Linked DNA regions of Homo sapiens: region 1 is linked to region 2. Evidence: promoter capture Hi-C in human tissues and cell types (Jung and others, 2019). All regions are on one chromosome and are shown on one strand. Each heading gives the region's core, a stretch centred on a gene start or on the middle of the fragment in contact. The rest is flanking DNA. Distances are from core to core; before and after follow the strand shown.

What was found. The method cuts DNA at HindIII sites, captures the fragments that hold promoters and counts their contacts. A contact is called where the count stands out against the background at its distance.
Region 1: a fragment that was not itself captured here is called in contact with the fragment with the promoter of ZNF366 in region 2 in 1 of the 25 tissues and cell types used here (hippocampus).

What each region holds. Positions count from the first base shown.
Region 1 is chr5:72,561,743-72,564,481 of GRCh38, forward strand. All of the region lies in intron 1 of LOC102503427 (a long non-coding RNA gene), which reads left to right. Among named protein-coding and RNA genes, the nearest start is that of ZNF366, 56 kb to the left of the region's middle. The HindIII fragment of the contact is 5,034 bases long and covers 1-2,739 here.
Region 2 is chr5:72,506,018-72,508,884 of GRCh38, forward strand. ZNF366 (zinc finger protein 366) reads right to left here and starts at 1,393. Exons shown (of 5, transcript NM_152625.3): 1 at 1,234-1,393. The HindIII fragment of the contact is 10,357 bases long and covers 1-2,867 here.

The sequences.
Region 1 (2,739 bases), core at 32-2,531, 56 kb after region 2:
TGCATCTATGGTGCCTGGAATAATGAGTGCCTGACACAGAATAGGTCTTCAATAAATATTTGCTGGATGAATGAGTGACTGAATGAAGAGGATGTCAATGATGGGTGAAAAGTGTAAGTTTCCCCGATAAAGGGAAGATAGTAGGAAGGAGACAGTGACTTTGCAGATTGGCAACTAGAGCTCAGCTGACGAAGCGGCATATCTTCCTGGAAGTCAGTTGGGAGAAAGAAGTTTGAACACAGGAATAGTCACAGACGTCTGAGGATTCTTTGTTTTTGCTTATTAAGGAGTAGGTTGATCTTTGTCAGTTCAATATGGCCAAGAGGAAACCAGCAATCAATATTGGTGGACAGAAATTCTAATTATGGAACAATTGCATAAATTCACTTAGGAAGAGTTGGGCAGTATAATCATGGTACTAGTGAGAGCAGCTACATCTATTGAGTGCTTACCAAATGCCAGGTGCTTTCCAGGCTATACATGGAGTATCCCATTTAATCCTTACAACAAACTCATGAGGTAGGCACTACTATTTTCATCTTATAAGTAAGAAAATGAGAGGCTAAGCAACTTGTCAAAGACCATATACCTGGAAAAATGTCATTTGTTCATTTGGTTATGTTTTGAGATGAGACAAGATCAAAAATTTTAGGTTGATCTCTGTAATCTAAAAATGAGCCTATAGAATTGCAGATAACAAACATGAAGTTGTGGAACATGAACAGGCAGATGAGGTTTGAACATCAGATTTGCAACTCTCTGTCTATATGACTTTAGGCAAGTTACTTATCTCTCTGAGTTTAGATTTATCCTCATTTGTAAAAGGTAAAAAATCATACAGTTCTTGTAGAGTTGTCAACATTAAATATAATCACACATGGAAACAGCTAAATGTCTAACCCAGAGAAGGCACTCAAGAAATAGCATTATTATCACTATTATTATTGTTGTTGTTGTTATTAGTATTATTATTTTTGAAGGAATTCAGAGTCTACTCTCTTGGCTCCATACTTGTGAGTGCCCACACAACCATGCTTCGCAAACAGTGTTTAGAAAGTGCAAACAGTGTTTAGAAAGTGCAAATACCTGAGTTCTACACCCAGAGATTCTAATTTGGAGATGATGGGAAATCTCACTCTCAAATGGAAAACTGGCATTCTCTTAACTCCGAAAAGAACTTCTTACTTTCTAATGTTGTGCTACCTAATGTGTGCTACCTAAAATACTCATATGAAACTAACTCATATGAAACTAACCCCTCCAAAGCAGTGTTGCCTAAGGTTAAGGGAATGCATTCTGGAACCTTGGGCAAGCACTTTGAGCTCTCTGGGCCTCATTGTCTTTATCTGTAAAATTGGGATAACAATAATTCCTACTTCATGCAGATGAGTCAGGGCTTAAAATAAACTTGTAAAATAATTAGAAAGAGCCTGGCATAAATTAGATAATCTAATAAAAATAATAACGACAACAATTATTATTATTTGATTCTATTTTTCATTCTTCGATCTCCTCCTGATGGAAGGATTTTTTTTAAGTGGAGATTATTTTCAGTCCCAAACTTTGCACACAGTATCCCGGCTTGCCTTCACCACTGAAAGAGGCAACACACTGAGCCCACTTCCTCTGGAGCCTGTGCTAAAGAAGGTGGGGCCTGCTGAGCAGTTCCAGACTGGCCTTAAGGAGACTTGACAATGCTTCATATATTCACATACATGTGAATATATGTGAGCTTAGGACATTCTTTTTGATAGCTAAACTTAATCTCACAGATAAAAATTTCATGTATTCTAGTGTGTAGAGAAGAGGATACTAGTGCATCCATCTTCCCAGCTGCTATGAAGATGCAGTAATTCCTTCCACTGGTCACTCTCACCCACCCAATCAGGTCTCCACTCTTGGTGTAGCTGCTTTCCTTAGCAAAGAGGCCTTCTCTGGCTACAAACTCAAAAGCAACCCACTCACCTTGCACCTCTCCTATATTAATCTGCTCTCACATTGCTATAAAGGAATGCCTAAGAGTGGGCAATTTATACAGAAAAAGAGGTGAAATTGGCTTAGGGCTCTGCAGACAGTACAGGAAGCATGATGCTGCCATCTGCTTGGCTTCTGGGGAAGCCTCAGGAAACTTACAATCATGGTGGAAGGTGAAGGAAAAGCAGGCATTATCACATGGCGAGGGCAGGATGTGGGGGGGAAGGAGGTGCCACACGTTTGTAAACCACCAGATTTCATAAGAACTCACTATTATAAGGACAGTACCAAGGGGATGGTGCTAGATCATTCATGAGAAATCCACCCCCATGGTCCAGTCACCTCCCACCAGGCCCCACCTCCAGCACTGGGGATTACAATTCAACCTGAGATTTGGGTGGGAAAACAGATCCAAGCCATAATCACCTCCCCACACCCAGATGGACACATCATTGCTCTGCCATTTCCTCTATCTCAGCCCTTTGTCTACTTTATAGCTCTTATCACAATACATAGTCTGATAATCATTTCACTTATTTTTCTGCTTTCCTGTTTCAAGGCCGTGCCATCTAAACACACACACACACACACACACACACACACACACACCATACACACACACAAATCCTTGTACATGTCAGGAACATGGGGATCCCATTTGTCTTGTTTTCTCCTTGCTCACTAGCGTCTATCTCAGTGCTAGCATTCAACACATAGCAGCTCTGAAGAAATATTGAATAAAGACTGAACTTTTTAGAGTTGTGA
Region 2 (2,867 bases), core at 143-2,642:
TTCTCATCCTTAGTAAGATGATGGTTCAATTTTGAATAAAGATTAATTACTTGAATGTGGTTAAAGCATAGTCTAGCCAAATTAATTTTTAAAATGAGAGTCCAGCTATTTTTATCTTATTCTTCACATCCCAGGTGATTTCAATCAGTAAATTTCATAGCAGTGAATATTTTTAAAAAGTATGCTTGGCCATTGGCTTTTACCCATTCGGCATCTCTCTGAATTAAAGTATTAATATTGGGAAACATAACGAGTCTCTCGGAGTGACCTTGCTGACCTATTTTTGACAACATGATTTCGGCTCCCTCATGGCTTGCGATGATAGGTGCTGGTAACATTATCCTTTATGACTAATCTAATTGAAGCAAGTTAGACTTTTAAAAACTAGTTGTGTATGTTAGCTTGACTAGCTTGCTACGCCCTATTTGGTGCTTGGAAAACCAGGCACTGGGTGAATGCTTTTCAATTGCGTCTGTAACTTAGTTTTTCCCTCCTACTGACATAAATGATCCATCTTAATCCTCCCATTCTAGCTGCATATTGTTTTCCAAAACTAAAGCTATATGCCCCAAAACCTTTGCCTTCTATCATGTGGCAGATGACATCTTCCACTGACAGTGAATAATAAATTTACACTCAACCCGCATGGGGAACCTGAACACATAAGCTCCCCACATGCAGAACTATTTCCAAGTGACATTCCCTTCTCTCTTTCCCTTCTACTTCAGTGATGCAGAATAACCATCATATAACAATTAACAATCCTCCTTTAGGGGGATGCTGAATGGAAAGAAAAGAACAGGAGAAGGGCACCTCAATCCAGGTAACGTATTAACAAAAACCCCAGAGCAAACCACAGTCCTTAACAGACACCCTGATAAGGCTCCCAGGACACAGTACTGAGGAAGAGCAAATTCTCCAGTGGGACACATCTCACACGCCAGTGGCTCCTGGTTCTCCCAGCCACATGATCTGTGCCAAAATTCAGATTTAACGCAGTGTCCTCTTTAGTCCCAATGTAATTCTATTTCTAGTTTTGCCAGCCTTAGTTCTGCAAAGCATCAGTATTCTCTTACCAAAAAAAAGTATTAGCTGAAATTCTGGGCCATCTATCACTTATACCCTTTGGTTAAGGACTACTCCCAGTAAGGTATTTTCTGTTGAAGATGCCCACAGCAGTATCCACCCAGGAACCTTGAAAAGGAAGCAGAAATGATTGCATGGGTAACTTACCAGCTCCTGAGGTCTGAATGGCTGCAGCAGCCCCACTCCTTTACCTGATCCCTGCTCTCTCTGTCTCTCTCCCTCTCTCTCTCCCTCTTTCTCTTGTGTACAGATTGCAGGGAACTTAAAGAACTCGCAGGGACAGTGTTTCGAATGACTTAAGAAAGAGAACAGGAACAATACTTCGTTCTCTTTTTCTCAGATGAGTACCTTCGGGAAGAAGGAAGGAAGGGAGGGGAGAGGGAGGAAGTCAACAACCCTTTGCTTTCCTGAAAAAAAATAAGGAAACAGAAGATAGACATCTCATTTTCTCTTAAACAAAATGTTGGAAGGGGCAAAAAAAAAAAATCTTTGAAAAAAGGAATTCCTCAAATATGTTCTCTGCCCTGGGAGCTTTAAAGAGATGAAACGCCTTAGTGGCCTGTCCTGTCCAAACAAACGGTGTTCCAGACAGGCAGGCTCTCCTGAGCCTGCAGCCTCTGGTATCTGGTTTGCAGAACTGACACAGCCGAAAGGGAACAAATCATGTCATGTCGACTTAGAGCAAGGGAGAGCTTGGCCTGTTGTGCTAACCAAGGTAAACCTGCAGCCTGTAAGACAGTGTCGGGGCTGGGCAGCCAGGACTCCTGGCTTTTCTTAGGCCCTTTGAAACACCAGCATTGCTGCAATTCCTCGCTGACTCTAGATCCTTAGAGTTTTTCCAGGATCAAATAGCAGATTTATGCCCACCGAACTTTATACAGTGGACCCAATCCAGCTTCCATCACTGATGGATGAAAAAGGAAAAGAAGCAACTAACCACAACTGCTGCCGGCCATGGTTATCTCAGATCTGTTGTTTATATTATTCTATCCTCTACATTCCTAAGGCGTCTTGGATTTAATCACCTCTGGAAAACTGGAAGGAGATTTCTAATTTGTTTTCAAAATACTGTGAAGCAGCATAGGGTTTAGATAAATCAGCCATGGTGTTCGAAAAAAGATAGGGGAGGCAGGAGCAGTTAAAATGGAGGGAGTAACCTTTATCAAGGTAGAAGACTTGGGGCTTCAGCAGGCAGGCATGAGCTTGCTTAGGCTAGTTGCACTTAGGAATAAGCTTGGTTTTAACTTCTCTGATTTGTGTTATGTCTCTTGTGTCCCTTATTCATCTGGTTAGGACCATTTTCACTGTGAACAGGAACCAGCAGTTATGTAGACCTTTGTGGCAGCAAAAGAAAAACCAGCCTTACACTACTTCCTCATTTCACCCAACTGTGAAAAAAATGGGGTGGACAGATACACCTGATTGCAAAGAGTCATGAAAGTGAGTTCAGGGGAAGAATGATTCTGATTCAGTGACCCTGTAAGATTTTGATTGAGTCCTTATTGGCCTATAGGATTATGTTTTTATTCTGACAGATATTTTTCTATCATCTATCTGTCTATCTATCATCTATCTATCTATCTATCTATCTATCATCTATCTATCTAATCTATCCATATATCTATCTATCTCCCTGTCTATCTAGTTATCTGAATATGTGTGCATGTATCAGAGAGAGACATGAAGATTTTGTTACTCGGTAGGTGTGCACAAGCCAGAGCAGAGTCCCATTCCTTGCATCCGCCACAGCACCAACACTGGCACAACCCATGGCACTGAGT